Linked DNA regions of Homo sapiens: all the other regions are linked to region 1. The links are contacts of gene promoters, found by promoter capture Hi-C in human tissues and cell types (Jung and others, 2019). All regions are on one chromosome and are shown on one strand. The core of a region is centred on a gene start or on the middle of the fragment in contact, and the rest is flanking DNA. Distances in the headings are between cores, read along the strand shown.

Region 1 (3,049 bases), core at 215-2,714:
ATGTATTATGAAAATGTAAAAGCATGCAATAAACTCAGCAAGGGGTAACCATATATAAAACTAAGTATATTTCTGTGCAGAATATAGTCCCTATAGTCGAATAGGCGCAAGTGTTAGAAACAGGCTCTGCCATGGGGTCCCTGAATCTGACTTCTGAATGTCAAGAACTTTTTGAAATCTGATGCAGAATGTCGTGCTCACATGTGTTGGTGAATTCTTCTGCGAAAATGATTCACAGTTTGCTTCAGGGTCTGAAATGAGTTCACGACCCAAAATAGGAAGGGGATCGGTAGGGCAGTGTATATAGCACACCATTGACGTAACCATTAATAACTCCATCTTAGGAGAAGACCCCATTTTTACATTTCATAAGGCATTTGCCAACAAGCATACTATACTTTAATAAACAAATAAAAAAATAGTCCGCATCCAGCCAGGTAAGGACACAAACAAGCACTCTCTTCCATTACCAGTTCTCACCACAGGACTCTGTGACTATAAAAGATGGGGCCTTCGGCAGCTCCCAACAGCCGGCTTAATTGACGCCGTCTTTGCAGAAGGACCTCTCGGCCCAAACCAGGCTTCTTTTCCTCTTCTTCACTCCCTCTGGATTGGTTCGTTAATCTCTTTGCCCCATCTCTTTTTCCTCATGATGTTAAATGCTACTTTGTTGTGGGATGCTTAACTTGTAACATTTATATGTGGATTAAGTACACTACTATGATGCGTGAGCGGCTTGAGCCTGTGTGTCAGGCTCTGACTACCCAGTGACCAGCAAGTGCTGAGAACTGCCTCCTTGGGAACTCCACGCAGCTCGTGGCTTTTGTGATCGAAAGAGCGTCCACAGCAGCCTGACATGGTGGAAAACACAGCATGCGTGGACCTGGTTATTTCTAGCCTGGCACCCTGATGACAGGAGGTTAAGGCTTTTGATTTAGGGAGAGAGACCTGAGGGTAACCCAAAGAAAGGCCTCAGGTCATCGCAGAGGAGACAGAAATTACCGGTGGGCGTCCCGGCCTGCTCCTCTTCTTCCCAGAGCTCAAACTGGGCAGCAGGCCTGGCTTTGTCTCCCTTCTAGGTACCCGTTGGGCCTGGCGCGGTTTCCAAGTCTCCCTCAATTTCCCTCCAGAATCCCGCGCTGGGAGCGGAAGCCCGCGGACTCTCAGGAAGACCTAGATTTCAAATCCGGGGCGGGGGAGCCGGGCCGAGCCTCAGGGCGGGACCAAAGCGGGAGGACTGGCGCGGGACGCGAGGGCGGGACCAGGGCGTGAGGACGCGGGGCGCGGGGGCGGGGCGCGCTGCGGTGGGCGGGCGCCTCCTGGGGCCCAGCCTGGGGCTGGGTTCTCGGGCGGGCGGGAGCTAGGGGACGGGCCGCAGCGGAGGCGGCGCGAGGGGCCGACAGGGGCGGGCGGGAGGCGGGGCTGGCGCTGGAGCACATCTCCCGGCGGCGGGCCGCGGAAGCAGTGCAGACGCGGCTCCTAGCGGATGGGTGCTATTGTGAGGCGGTTGTAGAAGGTATGAGGAGGCTGTGCGGTGACTGCCGCCCTCGCTCCGGGCCGTCAGCCCTGCCCCCGCTCCCTGCGTTCTCCCAGGCCCTGCGCCCGCCCGGGTACCTGCCCGGTCTGGAAGGCGGAGTGTTTGTTTTGCCACCTCGCCCGGGCGGGGGCGAGCAGTGAAGCCCGCGGAGCGAGAGACTTGGCCCGGAGGCGGGAGCCTGGGCCGGGGCCGGGGAAGCCAGGCAGCGGGTTAAGGCTTTTGATTTAGGGAGAGGGACCTGGGGGTAACCTAAGGAAAGGCCTCAGGTCATCGGAGGGGAGACCTGGCCCGGGGGCGGGAGGCTGGGCTGGGACCGGGGAGGCCGGGCAGCGCGAGGCCGGGCCGGGGAGGCCAGGCAGCGGGAGGCCTGGCCAGGGGAACCGAGCCCGGGGCCGGGAGGTCGGGCACGGGGCACCGAGCTCCGAGGGCGGGAGACCTGGCGGCCGGCCGAGTGCCGGAAGGCCGGGTCAGGCGGCGGAAGGCAGCGGCAAGCTGGGAAACGGACGGCGCTACCGCCGGCGGAGGAGTGGCCCCGGGAAGCGGTGCTGCGAGGGCTGGGGCGGCCGGGTGCTGACTGTGAGATACTCGCCCTGGGGGCTGATCCTTCCAATTTTGGACGAGGCTTCCGTCTCTGCTGCCTTCCATGCCTGGGGCCTGGATTATCCCGGGTTGACAATGTGGTTTAGCTCTTCCAGAGAGATAGTTGCAGGGTTTAAACTCCAATTCCTTTTCGGCCCTGCAGAGTTTCGTGAGTGCTCGCAGCTCATACCTGTGGCTGTGTATCCGTGGCCACAGCTGGTTGGCGTCGCCTTGAAATCCCAGGCCGTGAGGAGTTAGCGAGCCCTGCTCACACTCGGCGCTCTGGTTTTCGGTGGGTGTGCCCTGCACCTGCCTCTTCCCCCATTCTCAGTAAGTGGCACCCAAGCAGGAAACCGGAAAACATCGTTCGCAGCCCCCTCTCGCCCACCCACTTCTTTTCCTGCTTAGTCGCCAAGCCTTGTCGACCTTGTAAATGTCTGCCAGATCTGTCCGCGTCTCTCTATCTCTGATTTCAGCCGTCTGACCACAGCAGCCTCTTCCCTGGTCTCTCCACTTCCAGACCCGCCTGCTCCTTTGCAGTCCACTTTTTACAGCACAGGCAGAGGGATCTTTATGAAATGAAAGTCTAGAAAGCTCGTCCTTTGCCCTTAGGTTAAACCCAGCACTTAATATGGCTAACAAACCCCTGCGTGTGTTGGGTCCTGAGTGCCCCCACCCCTCCTTATCTTTAGCACCGGTTCGATTTCTGCACGGCAATGCTGACCTTCATACCTAGTGTCTGCCTGCAACACCTCTGCACTCCCTTTCTCCCGCCATCACATTTGATTAGAAGAGCTGCTACTTAAATTTCTGTTTTCATTAAACAGTTTAAGGTTAAATCTTCCTATGCTGTGTTCTTTCTGCAGCCAGCATTCCCTAAGAGAGATGTGTCATATCCTTTGCAGTTGCTTGTTTACTATCTTCCCTGCTAGA
Region 2 (3,049 bases), core at 242-2,741, 200 kb before region 1:
TGTGGCCATATGAGTAGTTCTCACCAGTGGAATGTAGTGAAAACGAGATGCTGTCTCTTAGGGACTAAGGAAGCTATCTTTCCTCTTCCGACATTTGCTGACTGGTCGATGCTAGATGATCTTGAGACCCTGTGCTGAGGACTGGAGAACTACAGGAAAGGAGCAGTATCTCTGAATTATCGTGTGGAAGGTCACTTGTCTAGCCCCTGATGACTGTGAGGTAAGTCGTTAGGGATCTGGGGTTGTCTGATACAGCAGTTAGCAGGTCCTGACTGACATATCCCTCTTATTCTTTAAGTTGAACAAATTAGAGACTGGAGTGTTTTGGGTAGCCTTGCTATATGGCATGGTCGAAGACGGTGCTTCGCAGGTGATTTACAACCCTCCTACCATTTACTCTGTCTTCATTTCAAGCAGTATAACCTATAATTTCCTAATCTTCAGCAGAATAGGAAAAGGGGCTCAAAGCCACAAACACACACGCTTCCTTTCAATGTACCTTTGTTGCTCAGCCACAGTGGCGAGTTCACGCGCCTGGCAAGACCTCTCCCTATTTGGGCATTTTGTGAATACAGAAGAATGGGCGCCCTGGTGTGACCCAACATCAGAATCCAAAACATGGCATCTTTACCTAGCCCTTTTCGCTTCTTTTAGATCATTCAATAAACATAATCTGTTTTCTTTCAAAATAACATGGTTATCTAATTCCCTTCATTAGCAGCTAGCAAAAGAGGCCCTGGGCTTCCCGTGAGCTAATTCACTGGGTCCCTGAGGTCGTTGCGGGCTTTCCCTCTCACTCTTGCAACAGACACAATCTCACTTCTTTAATGTAAAGTATGGTTTTTCTGTCGAAATGTGCTTCCTGTTTTCTTTATCGTAACTTACAGGCATGATTGCCTGGGTCTTCTCTCATTATTCCCAGTCCACTGCCTCTTCATATTTAGTGGTACTTCTGTCTTACTGGTCCCTGGAAATTTATCTCAGATCATTTCCTTTTGGGTCTATCTCTTCTTTAAGAGAAATAATTTTAAAGTCAAAGCTCCATAATACAGAGATCTGTTCTCTTTCCCACCATCTGTTTTCTGAACCTCCCCTCCTGGTTCAAGCCTCTGTAGGATAATTTGAACACAAACCATTGACTGCCAACTGAAATCGAACAAGATAATGTCCAATTTGCCCTTTTTTCTCTCTGATTTGTCCCAATGTTTACATTTCTCCATCAATCAATGAACAAATCACTTTGGTACAGTGTGCCAGTAGCTTTGAGAGGAGCACAGAAGCAATACAAGCAAGCTCACCAGTAACTTATGAGGCTCGCTTACCCAAAGCCATTCAAGAATAAGACAGTAGATAACACCAGCCACCTGGTGTATATAGAAAGTGCATTCAGAGGGCCGGGCACGGTGGCTCACGCCTGTAATCCCAGCACTTTGGGAGGCCGAGGCGGGCAGATCACGAGGTCAGGAGATCGAGACCATCCTGGCTAACACGGTGAAACCCCGTCTCTACTAAAAATGCAAAAAATTAGCTGGGCGTGGTGGTGGGCGCCTGTAGTCCCAGCTACTCGGGAGGCTGAGGCAGGAGAATGGCATGAACCCGGGAGGCGGAGCTTGCAGTGAGCCGAGATCGCGCCACTGCACTCCAGGCTGGGCGACAGAGCGAGACTCTGTCTCAAAAAAAAAAAAAAGAAAAAAGAAAGTGCATTCAGAATTGGGGAGGGGAGAGATCAATGTGTGTTAGAGCCAAGGAAACATTTAGTAAAGATGGAATTTAGCCCTTAAGGACTGTCAGGCCAGAGCAATAGGAAGTACAAACATTTCATATGTAGAGAATAACACGAACAAGGCACAAGAGCAGAAATATGAGTAACAGCCTCAGTGGGTCCTATTCGTTATGCACCTATCATGTCCCTTGCACTATGCCGGGCCCTTTGCACTCATTATATACGATGCTCACAGCAATCCTGAGATTGTGAGGCGGGTATTTTACAAATACAAGAAGTCAGTTTTAGAGAAGTACTAAATGGCAGACTCAGGATTCATGTCTGCACTTCATTCACTGCGTAGGAAGGTGAGGGTGGTTAAGGAGGTGCCACTCTGGGAGCAGAAGGCAGTCACTGGAGCAGATCAGTGGAGCTACGTTACGGAGATCCGGGATGGTCCGTGAGGATGCTGGGCCTCACCTGGTAAGCAACAGGGACTGCTGTAGAAGCTTTAGCACAGAAATAGGATGACAAACTTTAGTCAGACAAAATCTGAGTTCAAGGCCGTGTTCTGTGTTAGCTGTGTGACTGGGAACCACCGTTAAACCTGCTGAGATTGTTTCCTCCTCTATAAAATGTGTTCAACAGCAATATCAATGTATAACATTGAAAGGCTTAAATGAGATTTTACTAAAGCACCTGAGATATAGTTAGCATTTACTATATGATAGAGGTTGTTGCTGTTACTACTGCTACTACCACCACCACTGCTACCACAACAGCACTTAAGGAAGGATGATAATCTGGAGAAAAACAGCTAACAGATATTTCGTGAAGACATGAAATGAGATGGCATAGATAGATAGATAGATAGATAGATAGATAGATAGAGTTATATGCCATTTGGTTATATATACATAATCAAAACTTGACTCTGGGAGTATAGATGAATAAAGGTGAATTAGAATCTAGTATAAAGAGAGAAGATCGGAGAATGAGGATTGACACATCTGGGGCACCCACAGTTGGGGAGCGGGACACGGGAGAGAGTCAGTGACAGACACAAGGAAAATGCAGAGGAAGAGGTAAGATGGTCACGTAGACCACAGCAGTCAGGTAACAGAAGAGGTTCCTCAAAAGGCTAGGGAGGTCTACTGTGCCCAGGGCTGCTGTGGGGAGAAAAGATTGAGGACTAGGAAAAGGCTTGTGCAGTTGGGGCAGTGACAACATGGAACACAGACTGGGAGGAACCAGGTGGGAATAAAAGACACTGGCCACAGCCACAGGCACTGCTCATTCATCTGAGGTGTAAGTATAGAGAGAGAACTCGGCTGTGGCTTGGAAGTA
Region 3 (3,049 bases), core at 318-2,817, 150 kb after region 1:
ACTCTGCTCTTCTTTGCAGCTGATCTTGGAGCAACAGTTTTGGCACCCATTAAGGGGAAAGTTCACTCAACTTAATTTTTTAGTCAGAATTGTGTAAGCTGAACCAATTGTGATGTCTGTAGTGTTAGCTATTGTTTCTGCTGTTAATTGACAGTCCCCTTTAATTGGGGGCATGAACAAGACTTTTTTTTTCCTTGCAAATTGATGTGAATGGTCTGCTGCTGTGGGCTTCATCTTCAGCATTGTCTCATCCCTTCTTGAAACAACTTTTTGGGGCTCCTGGAGGCAGCAGAGGCTGAGGCCTGGAGCCAGGCTGGGGCAGCCCTAGGAGGCGTCTTAGCCAAAGCAGGTGTCCTTCGGGGGCCACAGGCCGCCCACCTGCCTCAGGCCCTTGGCCACCCCTCCCCTCCCTGCGCCCAGTCCCCAGTCGTGCCAGAGAAGCTGTGCTACTGCCTGGTGGGAATTGGGGGAAGGGAAGTCGAGAAGAAGGTCCTGGGGTAGAGCTCGGGCCTGCTGCCCACACAGACTGCCGTGGCTGAGAGAGTAGGATCTGGCCGTCCCTGTGCCTGTCTTCTTGGAAGGAGCAGGGGCGCCTTGTAGCTGCACCTGTGAGGAGCAGGATTCTGCTGCAGGCACTCAGCCAGCAGCTGCAGGCTCTGTTGTTTTTACACCGGTGACAAATGACATGGCCAGACACACTGCAATGTCTGAAGAAACCTCTGTAGAAGAGCAGGATGCTGTGGACGCGCTGTGGCCCAGACAGAGGCTGCCAAGCAGATGGAACCTGCACTCGGCCAATTTGGCCAAAGAAGCCCCCATACTCTCCGTGAAAGAGTTCCACCAGAAGCTGTTGTGTCAGTAACAGTCTCAAAAAAAAAAAAAATCAAACAACAACAACAACAACAAAAACCCCACAAACCCACCAACACTAAAGATCAGTTTTGAGTCTGATTTGAAAGCTAGGATCCAATTCTGCAGAGGCATTGACATGGCGAGACACCATCCTAATAGCCAGATCTGCAGGTTCCTCCATCATGCCAGTGAGAATGCTCCATTCACCATTCCTCAGCTTCTTGTTCTGGTTTCAGAGTTCTGTCTGTATTGGAGGAGTGTTAAAGCTAGAGGGGTCTTTACCCACTTCCTCTTATGCCCAGATCTGAATATGGAGGTCAAGAGGGGAAAGTGACATGTCCTAAGTCTGAGTAGAGTGAACACCCTGCAGAGAGGCCTGGCCTGCTCGCTCGTCAGACTCTGGGACTTGTGCTGTGAGTTCTTTACCCCTTTATAGGTTCTATACCTACTTCATTTTGTGTATTTACAAAGATAAAAGCATTTAATCATTAGTTATTAATGTTAAGTACACAGCAAAAGCATAAATATGACCTTTATTCTTGGCTTCAAACCTGATCTAACTTGCTGAATTTCTTATGGGGTCATAGATTCAGGGAGATTCAGGGTGAATGACTGATTGTATTTGTTTTCTAGGGCTGCTGTAAAAGATTACCACAATTTGGTGGTTAAAAAAAACAAACAAACAGGAATTTATTCTCTTACTGTTCTGGAGACCAGAAATCTGAAATCAGGGTGCCAGTAAAAGGCCCTAATCCTTGCAAAGGTTCTAGGGAGGATCCTTTCTTGCCTCGTCCAGCTTCTGGTGGCTCTTGCAGTTCCTTGGCTTGTGGCTGCATCACTCCAATCCCTGCCTCCATCTTTACATGGACTTCTCCTCTGGGTATGCGTCTTCTCTTCTATCTCATAATGTCCTTAGATTTAGGGCCCCCACCCATGTAATCCAGGATGATCTTCTCATCTTAACATCCTTAATTGAATTATATCTGCAAAGACTCTTTTTTTTCCATAGAAGATTGCATTCACAGGTTTTGGGTGTTAGGACATGGACATATATTTTGGGGGGGTCACCATTCAACCTGTTGCAACTATGGACTCTGTCTTGGACAAAAGGTTACTTTAGGAAATCAGTGGCATAATTTGTCTACGTATAAGATGCAAGTTGATGCATTGCCCTGGAATCATTTCCTAATTGCTTCCAGTATGCAAATCTTACCTCTTTGATTAAGTTCTAAGTTGTATGTTCAGGGCTTTTAAAATTAAATTCCTGGATCTAATTATGAACTAGTGTCATCCCATTGTCTTGGCTTGCAAGATTCCGATAAGTTTGCTGTTAACTTTATTTTTGTTCCTTGTATATAATATGTTATTTTCTTCTCTGGCTGCTTTAAAAATTTTTCTCTTTATCATGAGTTTTCAGAAATTTGATTATGATATGCCTTATTGTGTTTTTTATTTGTTTGATTACCTTGCTTATGGTGTGTTGAGTTTCTTGGATCTGTGATCTTAATTACTTTCATCAGACTTGGAAAAATTTTGTTCATTATTTCTTCAAATATTTTTCTCTGGCCTCTGTTTCTCATTCTGAGACTTCAGTTATATATATTTTTCAGACAGCTTTGCATTGTCCCGAGAGTCACTCAGTCTCTGTGCATTTTTTCTTTCAGTCTTTTAAAAAAAAGTTCTGTGCTTTATTTTGGACACATTCGATTACTATGAGTTTCTGTCCCTGTGTCTTTTCTGTCTAATTTTCTGCTAATCCTATCCAGTGAATCGTGAAGAATAAAGTTTTATTTTAGAATAGTCATAGATTTATAGAAAAATTGTGAAGATATACTCTGTATATCTGCTTTGCTATAAAGAAATGCCAGAGACTGGGTAATTTATAAAGAAGAGAGGTTTAACTGGCTTACGGTTCTGTAAGCTGTACAAGAAGCATGAATCTGGCATCTGTTTGTCTTCTAGGGAGGTCTCAGGAAACTTTCAGTCATGGTGGAAGGCAATGAGGAAGCAGGCAGTACATCTTACATGGCCGGAGTAGGAGGAAGAGAGAGAGGGGAAAGGTTCTACACATTTTTAAATGACCAGATCTCACAATAACTCACTCACCCACTATTGCTAGGACAACACCAAGGGGGATGTGTTAAGCCAGGAGAAGCCACCCCCATGAGCCAATCATCTCCTACCAAGCCCCACCTCC
Region 4 (3,049 bases), core at 280-2,779, 160 kb before region 1:
CAGTTTCCATCACCCTGCCTCGCTATGCCTGTCTCTGCCCAGGTCTATTTAAAGGAATCTCCTGTGCTGGATCTTTACACTGGGCTTGTGCCCAGATTTCCTTGGCCATTGTTACCTTCCCCATCCTTCTGTGGTTTTAGACTCCAGGTTTACAGAAAACCCAGCTGAGCAAACCCACTTTCTGTAAGAGTGGGGAGGAGGGTGCACAGGAGTGGCTGTAGAGGAAGGAGAAGCTGGCTGTCAGTAGCCTTATGTGTTCCCAGCTGGGAAATACTGGCTCCTTAAGCCTTTAAGCCAATTGAATTATATTTTTGGCAAACAGCGGCATGATTTACATGCCCAGGCTATAAATTTCCTTAGATGTTTATATGGAAATTTGATTTTGAAAGAATAAAGAAATATTCAAACCAGAACACTACTGGAATAAGAATACAATCTGTCTGAGTTTTACCATTTGTTAGCAAGTGTATGAGTCTTAGTCCTTCTTAGAGACCCCTTAGTCTAATGCTTATGTTCACATACAGCGTTGAAAGACTATTTCTTGTGCCTGATTTTCTTTGGATGTAGGTGTACCTCCATTTTTAAATACCCCAAGTGCCTTTTCCTTAATAGCAGTTAATAGAAGGGAAAAGATTTATAATGCTATCAGTGTCTGTTTAAGAGTTGTTCTTCACACATATCTAAATGAGCTATTGTCTTAGTTCTTTATGCATAGACTATAGTTTTCCTATGTATAGCATTAATCAGTTTGTTCAGTGAAGTTGGCTTGCAGCTTGTTACCTGGCTGCCATTTAAGAGGCATGAATTAAACTGCTATAGTTTGTCATTATCACCCACTAAATATAGGAATTTGGCTGGATTCAAACCCTTAGTATTATAGATTAGTATCTAATGAAATGTTCTTGTACACATGCTACTAAATATATAATTTTCTGAAGTTTTTTTTTTAAAGTGTTCTTTCTTAGATTTAATAAACTTTCTTGGTGTAAAGCAGTCTATAGCATGGCTACTGCTGATGCTTAAAATAGACAAATTAATCCCCTGTGTCTGACTGTATTTGTTTACAGAGGAATTATTTAAGATTCTCACTCAGGGATGTGATCCTGTTGAACAGCACCTGCAAATTCACACAATCTAGGTTTTATGGGAGTTACTCTAGGAGCTTTGGGGAGAGAAGAGAGAAAGGCATGGCAGTGTGTGTCGGGGTGAGTACTTCCTATTCAGGCCTGGAGTGCTGCAGGGTGATGAAGACAACTAGAGGTGGAAGGATTTGAGGGCAAGGCAAGTTTGCACATTATATTCCCAAGGCTGCTTTGAGGTTGTGGAGTTGCAATACTGTTTCTGAAATCTGAACACTCAGTGTCAATAGGACATGGACTTGATTTGTCTGCTTATCCCGCCTGGTGTACATCCCTTCCTCAGAAAGGCCTTCCCCCGTGCCTTGCAGACCTTGCTTGTTTGATTTTTATCTTCCCTGCTAGAAGGTTAGCCCACTGAAAGCCTAGACCAGGTCATCAACACTGTCTTCCCAGCGCCTGGCCAAAGCCTGGCTCACACTAGGTGCTCAGATATGCAGTGACGGGAGTAGCTCAATTCCTATGTATTCGTCTAGAATAAATCTGCTGTCAGCATGCTCTGGGCAATCTGTTTCTTTCTTGGTATGCCTTACCTTGGTTAGACATACCACCCGGCATCCTATCCTTCATTTCAGTGGTTTAAAAAATATATGCCCGTTGTCTCTTATTGGGAAGCTGAGCAGAAAGAAAACAGTGTCTGTTTTCAGAACCGGTCCTGGCAGCAACACTCACTGATGCCTGTCCCTGCCCATGGGTGGAGCAGTGGGGTGACTTTGCTGCTGGCTGCCCATTGGCCTATCCTCCACCCTCTGCTCTCCTGAGAAGTCAAGTGTGGATTTTGTCTGCTAGTTACCTTTAGCCCAGTGGGCAGCAGCGTGGGGCTCGGCATGTGACTTGTGCCCTGAGAGACCTTGGTAGGCTGGGGGAGCGCAGCTGAGCCCTGCTAACCCCCGCCCACTTCCAGGCTCATTGCCCTCTTCTGTGTCTGCAGTGGGGTGTCACCTAGTAGTCAGCTGTTGGTGGCACAGATGGTGAGTGGTTTTGTTAAGTGCTGGTGCCTTCTTTCCAGAACCATGGCCTGAAGAAATCTGCTTATCTGTTCTTTCTTTGCTGTCATGGTAAACCTTGAAATTTCGTGTGTGTGTTTGTGTGTGTGTGTGTGAGTGAGTACACTTACATGGATTCATTGTAGCAGAGATTGAATGAGCAGAGCAAATACATTATGTTGGTTCTGGTAGTATTAATGGCCTGTAAAACAGAGACCATTAAATTTAAAATTAATTTCATTTAAATTTAAATTTTAGCAGAAAATTTCTGTATTTTAACAAAGAAAAAGAGATGCAAATCAAAACCACAATGCATTTCTCTGATGACCAGTGATGATGAGCATTTTTTCACGTGTCTGTTGGTGGCATAAATGTCTTCTTTTGAGAAGTGTCTGTTCATATCCTTTGCCCACTTGTTTGTTGTTTTTCTTGTAAATTTTTGTTTTTTTTCTTGTAAATTTGTTTGGGTTCTTTGTAGATTCTGGATATTAGCCCTTTGTCAGATGGACAGATTGCAAAAATTTTCTCCCATTCTGTAGGTTGCCTGTTCACTCTGATGGTAGTTTCTTTTGCTGTGCAGAAGCTTCTTAATTTTGTCTGAACACTCCTTGTAGGCAGTGTTTTTACCTGCGTGCTTTACTTGTTCTGCACTCAGGATGAATCACAGAGCGTTGGTAGAGGAAATAATCATAAAATCTAATATTTTTGAGCACTTTCTAACGTGTGTGAGATCATTCTTACCTCTTTATGTGAGTCATTTAGCAGTCAGAAAAGCCCTGCGAGATAAGGTGCTATTTCCGTCTCCATTTACAGATGAGGAAACTGAGGCACAGGGAAGGGAGGTCATATGTCCCAAATCATACAGCTCATATGCCAGGGAGGCAGAATTTGGCTCTAGCATCTAGGGTCTTTTTTTTTTTTTTTCTT
Region 5 (3,049 bases), core at 550-3,049, 130 kb after region 1:
AGGGGACTGACTGTAAAGGATCATGAAGCACTTTTTGGGGTGATAGAAAAGTTCTATATCTTGATCATCATGGTAGTTACACAACCATATGCATTTGTCAAAACTTGTCAAACTATACTTAAAAGGAGTGAATTTTACTTTTGTATATTATACCCATATAAACTCGACTTTAAAAAACATAACAAACGGGCCGGGCGAGGTGGCTCATGCCTGTAATCCCAGCATTTTGGGAGGCTGAGGTGGGCGGATCGTGACATCAGGAGATGGAGACTATCCTGGCCAATATAGTGAAACCCCATCTCTACTAAAATACAAAATAGTAGCTGGGCATAGTGGCACATGCCTGTAGTCCCAGCTACTCGGGAGACTGAGGCAGGGGAATCCCTTGAACCTGGGAGGCGGAGGTTACAGTGAGCCGAGATTGTGCCGCTGCACTCCAGCCTGGTGACAGAGTGAGACTCTGGCTCAAAACAAAAACAGAAACAAAAACAAAACATTATAAATGTAGAAAAGCCGCTAAAAAAAGTGAAGGCAGTGGGCAGAGGAACCAGTAAGGAGACTGAAGAAAGAATGAGGTTTACATTAGGGCAGAGATTGCTGAATTAGAGACACAGAGCTTCAAAATCCTCCTCTTTAAATTCAGAAGGACTTGAGCTTGATTTTTATTTATTATTTATTTTTTATTATTTATTTATTTATTTTGAGATGGAGTTTCCCTCTTGTTGCCCAGGCTGGAGTGTAGTGGTGCAATCTCGGCTCACTGCAACCTCCGCCTCCCTGGTTCAAGTGATTCTTCTGCCTCAACCTCCCTAGTAGCTGGGATTATAGGCATGCACCAGCACGCCTGGCTAATTTTTGTATTTTTAGTAGAGATGGGGTTTCACTATGTCGGTCAGGCTGGTCTTGGACTCCTGACCTCACGTGATCTACCCATCTCAGCTTCCCAAAGTGCTGAGATTACAGGCATGAGCCACCGTGCCCAGCCAAGCTTGATTTTTAGCTTTGCCATATACTGATTGTGTGATCTTAGGGAAGTTATTTAACCCCTGCAGCCATGTTTATTTATCCGTAAAATGCACATGATAACAATAGTGCCCATCTGTGGTGCGCCTACTACAGTGTCTACAGAAGAGGCTATTATATTGTTGGAGTTGTGTCTATGGGGTAAAAGTGATAGGATGTGGTGATTGATTGGATCTTGAGTGTAAGGGAGTAGAAGGGGGCAAGGGTGATTCACAGGTCCTGACTTGGGTGATTGAGTGCCACCAACTGACATACAAATTTGGAGGAAAGACAATGAGTTCATGTATAAACATGCTGAGATGAAAGAGCTGCTCTGAGGGACATCTCGGTGAACCTTCCACAGAGAGTTGCATAGAGATGTCCAGAGCTGAGTTTAAAGTGAAAGGCCCATTTTGATTGAACTTTTAAAGCAAACACATTTTAAAAATCACAATATAGAAATTTAGTTGTATTTTTAATTCAGGCTCGTGTTGAATATGTCTCTCGGGGGTTCCCAATGATAGTCCAATGGTTAATTTTATTGGGCTGATATCCATGCCAATTATTAGTGACTGGAATGTGGTAGGCGCTGAACAAATATTTGCTGAATAACTCTGTTGAATATTTCCTATTTTCAAAGTTTTGGAAACTTCTGGATTCCCTGGACTCTGGCTGGGAATTCAAGACAATATCTTATTGACAATATCTTAGGTGGGCTTAAGATGCAAACTCTGTGAAATGGCTGCATGACTGGAGACCACTTTAAATTCATGCTGTCTGATGGGAGGATGGGAGGAGTTGGTGCTACTTGCTACTTGATTCAGTGACTTTGCACCAGGCTGCTGGTTCCTCTTGTCCATTCTTCAGAAAGTTTCCCCGAAATCCAGCTGCAATCCTCCTTCTGCAGTCATTCCATTTTTATATCACACGAGTAGTTGGAACCATGCAGGAAAGCTCTAAACCGTCTCTGAAAATTGGTTTCTTGAGTTTCTTTTGTGACTTTGCAACAGGGCCTGGAAGTGTCACAGGGAGAATAAGCTTGAGCTTCTCTGCTTCATGGCAGGAAGCCATTTCAGCTCATTGTTACCAGCTCAATCCGGCCTGGGCACCAAAGTATTGTGTTCCTAATCATGCAGAAGCCTGTGCATTCAATTAAAATGTTGTGTGGCTTTCTGAAAACCACCAGTTAGGATGACTGCATTCCCTTAACTCAATTGGGCCTGATGGCACATGTCCTAATACTTGCTGTTGTCTCTTATTAGCAGTTATTCCTCATCACCCAGCATCCAAGAAAACAGTTCTTACTCTGGCCATTATTTCTTCTGTGGACCCTTAATTCTCACTGTGTGTTTTCACAGCGTCCTGTGCACAGAGCATGTTGGGTTTGAATGTCATGGTTATTGAGCAAATTTGAAAATAAGTGGGTTTGTAGGAGTCAGAGCGAGAGGAGTAGCTGGTCTGGTGACAGGAGTGGGAAGTTAACGGACTGCAGGAGGGATGAGTCACAGCTGCTCTGAGCTTCAGAAACAGCTCAGCCTGGCCAGCTGCGGGAACTTGCTTCGCCATTTCAGCAAGCGAATCTGTCCATCCTCCTTCTAGTGGGGTGGTACAGGAATGAGTTGGGAAGTCCTGAATAGGAAATTCCACATTTAGAAAATGTACCTTAACATCTCAGTTCCACTCAGGGACAATCTTTGAGGACTAGTCATTAGGCTGAGCTCACAGGGGGGACCTGGGGGAGGAGCTGCCAGGATGGTGTAGGCATATGCATACACAGAATCTCACCCTTTTTTGGGAGAGTTGCACAGAAGGATCTGCTGATATTGCATATTCAAAACTAGGACATTCCTGATGCTTCGTCATTTTCTCAATTCAAACAAGCAAAAGTTCACATGTACACGCTTGCACCACCCCCTTAAATGTGTTAGGAGGAAAGAGTTCATAATAAAAAGAAGCTAAAAAAAGAGGCATAAGCAATGTGGTTGGGTTTCATCCGTACCACCCTAAGATGAGTGATGTCACTGGAAAGAAGCTCAGAGATGTCAGA
Region 6 (3,049 bases), core at 354-2,853, 140 kb before region 1:
TTCTGTATCACTTAAATGTTTTTAAACAGTATATACATTATAACTTAAGGGTGGACAAAAAGCAAAAGAGCTTGTAGGAAGAGAAATGGATAATCCTAATAAAAATAGAAGAGTCCATGGAAACAGATCAGGCAGTCATCCCCTTCTAAAGGGTCTCCCTGTGAGTTCATCCCCTGGCACCCATCCACTTCCTCCTCAGCGCGGCCCTCCTCAGCCTGCCGCCCTACTCTGAGACCTAGCTTTTCCACACTTCTTTTTGGTGTCTCCTGTTTTGTTTCATCACACCTTAAGCCAGAAACGATCTCTTCCACTTTTGGACAGCTCTCTCCTCTTGGTACCAGAGGTTATCATATCACAGTCTAATTTCTCCAAGGGTTTCCAGACTGTTGTAAAAGTGAAGGCCCCTCTCTGAAATTAAAAAAAAAAAAAAAGGTAGGCTCTAACGTCATAGTCACTGAGCTTTTATTTATCAGTCTCTAAAGACTGCTTTTTGGCTTTCTGTGGATGTCTGGATGCCTTACAGTGTCCTTTGGCCCCAGAGGACTCAGCAGCTCACATTGGAGACCTGCTACCTGTAAAGACTACTGCTGCTACTGTGGGAGGCTAGGCCCTGCCGCCTTATCCATCATTAGGAGTTCTTGCACATAGCAAATATACTCAGGAAGCTAACAGATGAAGACGACTTAGAGAAAGGTGCACAGCGATGTCAAATCTGCACACCTATAAATGTTGCACCTAAAACTAATAAAGACCTGTGTCTGCACATGCATATGTTTTGTAGCTGATGATTTTAACTGTTAGAGATGCTATGCAAGAAAGTGAAGTTTCTAACAGATGATATTGCGCTTGGTGAGGAGATAAAATAGTGGAAATAGTCTCAAAAAGAATATAGGTAACATTTTAGAAGTATAACCAAATGGGGTTTCATTTCCACCAGAGCTGAACAGGATCAGTCCTCTGTGCTGTGGATGGCAGTGGCTTGAGAACTGTCAATGTGTGTAGTGGTGGCAGTTTGTGGCTCTTCTCTTGCTCTCTTTGGCCTTATCCGGCAGGACCAGCACTTGTAGGTCTGTAAACCTGTTTTCTCTCTTCAGGCATCTTTCTGACTTAGCCGTGGTTCCCCGAAGCCTGTGTTTACCTCCAGGCGAATGATTGGTTTACATCAGCACATCTTGCACTGCAGTCTTTCAGCACTCACTCACTGGGCAGCTGTTCCGCAGGTGGCCGCCTAGAGGGGTGCGGATACCACAGGGGCATATTAGACTTTATATTTAATTTTTAAGCATTTTATTTTTTAATGGACAAATACAAATTATGTGTATTTATGGTGTATAATAGGAACGAGTTCAGGACATCTATTTTTAATAAAAATGGTGACCATGTTCACTATTAGTTGGTGACTGTAGTTAATAACAATGTACCATATACCTGAAATTACTAAGAGAATAGATTTTAAGTGTTCTCACTACAGATAAGTGACAAGAATGTAAAGGAATGGATATGTTAATTAGCTTGATTTAGCCATTCCACAGTGCATAGATGTTTCACTGCCTTCTAACCTGCCCCCCTTTCTTTTTTGATAGGGTAGTGGTGGTGCACGAAGATCCGCACTACTTGACAGCGACGAGCCCTTGGTGTATTTCTATGATGATGTCACAACATTATACGAAGGTTTCCAGAGGGGAATACAGGTGTCAAGTAAGCATTTTCCTGCATTTGCGTGGCTCCCGCTCGCCGTGTTTCATGAAGAACGAGTGGCCTTTCAGAAATGCACATTTGCTCCTATCTTTCGCCTCCTTAGGATCGCTCAGGCCCCTCTGTGTCCACTGTAACTTTCCCAGAGTCGGTCCCAAAGCTCACTGGACCCTCTAGATGTTCCCTGTGGCCCTGGGGGCTCCATGGTCAAATATGTGAGTGTCACATCCTGTATTTTATGGTGAGTCACATGTTACACCAGTGCACAATAGGCTCTGACGTTTCCTGCAATAAAGAGGTCTGTTGAACTGGGCCCAATCCGGCATTTTTCATGCTTACTTGACCATGAGACCCATATTTTGAGAAAGAAATACTGACATCCCAGGATGGCAGTGTTCTGTTAAAGATACTTGGGAAATGTTGGCTCATGGGATTACCCTTAATTATTAACTGTAGTGTAAGAAACCCTGTGATATCCAGCATACCTCCTTTCCAGCCTCTGTCCCTCCCAGGCCTCCTGTATAGGGCCCTCAGGTCATACTGAACTTCCTGCAGAGCCACGACTACCTCTGCTCTCTCCCAGCCCTGAGGCTTTGTGCAGTTCTATTTTGCTTTTTAGAAATGGGGTCTTGCTATGTTGCCCAGGCTGGACTCAAACTTCTGACCTCAAGTGAGTCTCCTGCCTCAGCCTCCCAAAGCACTGGGACTACAGGTGTGAGCCACCATGCCCAGACTTGTGCACTTTTTTTTTTCTTTGGACGGAGTTTTGCTCTTGTTGCCCAGGCTGGAGTGCAATGGCATGATCTTGGCTCACCGCAGCCTACACCTCCTGGGTTCAAGTGATTCTCCTGCCTCAGCCTCCTGAGTAGCTGGGATTACAGGCATGCACCACCACGCCCAGCTAATTTTGTATTTTTTAATAGAGATGGGGTTTCTCCATGTTGGTCAGGCTGGTCTCAAACTCCTAATCTCAGGTGATCCACCCACCTCGGCCTCCCAAAGTGCTGGAATTACAGGCGCGAGTCACCATGCCCGGCCATGCACTTTTTTTTCTTGATCATAAAGCCTCTTTCTACCCCCAGCCTGGGTGCTTGATGTATTCTTTAATCTTACAAAACTCACTGCATTTCACCTTTTCTCTAAAACCTTCCTAGTCTATCATTTTCATCCCCTACCTCTGAGTGAAGCATTTCTTCCCTTTTCCCTCCCAGCATGTTATATTCCTTCTGCATAACTCCTGATGGCACAGAGGTGTTCACCTGGCATTCTGCCCCCCTAGCCCGAGCTCCTTGAGAACAGGGTGGTTATCAGTCATCTCTTTTCACAGCACTGACAGTGCCTGGCACACAGTGAG

The links. The method cuts DNA at HindIII sites, captures the fragments that hold promoters and counts their contacts. A contact is called where the count stands out against the background at its distance.
Region 2: a fragment that was not itself captured here is called in contact with the fragment with the promoter of CASP3 in region 1 in 2 of the 25 tissues and cell types used here (lymphoblastoid cells and small bowel).
Region 3: a fragment that was not itself captured here is called in contact with the fragment with the promoter of CASP3 in region 1 in 1 of the 25 tissues and cell types used here (lymphoblastoid cells).
Region 4: a fragment that was not itself captured here is called in contact with the fragment with the promoter of CASP3 in region 1 in 3 of the 25 tissues and cell types used here (IMR-90 fibroblasts, hippocampus and spleen).
Region 5: a fragment that was not itself captured here is called in contact with the fragment with the promoter of CASP3 in region 1 in 6 of the 25 tissues and cell types used here (IMR-90 fibroblasts, bladder, dorsolateral prefrontal cortex and 3 more).
Region 6: a fragment that was not itself captured here is called in contact with the fragment with the promoter of CASP3 in region 1 in 1 of the 25 tissues and cell types used here (liver).

Annotation. Positions count from the first base shown.
Region 1 is chr4:184,647,862-184,650,910 of GRCh38, reverse strand. It overlaps CASP3 (caspase 3), which reads left to right and starts at 1,464. Exons shown (of 8, transcript NM_004346.4): 1 at 1,464-1,516; 2 at 2,280-2,446. PRIMPOL (primase and DNA directed polymerase) reads right to left here and starts at 1,173. Exons shown (of 14, transcript NM_152683.4): 1 at 1,003-1,173. RefSeq lists silencers at 1,157-1,736, 1,747-1,956. The HindIII fragment of the contact is 11,001 bases long and covers 1-3,049 here.
Region 2 is chr4:184,852,640-184,855,688 of GRCh38, reverse strand. MIR3945HG (MIR3945 host gene) reads left to right here and starts at 37. Exons shown (of 3, transcript NR_132989.1): 1 at 37-220. The HindIII fragment of the contact is 4,150 bases long and covers 1-3,049 here.
Region 3 is chr4:184,496,150-184,499,198 of GRCh38, reverse strand. No RefSeq gene overlaps it. Among named protein-coding and RNA genes, the nearest start is that of IRF2-DT, 23 kb to the right of the region's middle. The HindIII fragment of the contact is 5,525 bases long and covers 1-3,049 here.
Region 4 is chr4:184,804,585-184,807,633 of GRCh38, reverse strand. The region is part of intron 1 of ACSL1 (acyl-CoA synthetase long chain family member 1); the gene reads left to right. Among named protein-coding and RNA genes, the nearest start is that of ACSL1, 20 kb to the left of the region's middle. The HindIII fragment of the contact is 5,427 bases long and covers 1-3,049 here.
Region 5 is chr4:184,513,949-184,516,997 of GRCh38, reverse strand. All of the region lies in intron 1 of LINC02427 (long intergenic non-protein coding RNA 2427), which reads left to right. Among named protein-coding and RNA genes, the nearest start is that of LINC02427, 22 kb to the left of the region's middle. RefSeq lists enhancers at 2,321-2,480, 2,491-2,560, 2,611-2,700. The HindIII fragment of the contact is 4,259 bases long and covers 1-3,049 here.
Region 6 is chr4:184,787,266-184,790,314 of GRCh38, reverse strand. It overlaps ACSL1 (acyl-CoA synthetase long chain family member 1), which reads left to right. Exons shown (of 21, transcript NM_001995.5): 3 at 1,584-1,698. Among named protein-coding and RNA genes, the nearest start is that of ACSL1, 37 kb to the left of the region's middle. The HindIII fragment of the contact is 5,273 bases long and covers 1-3,049 here.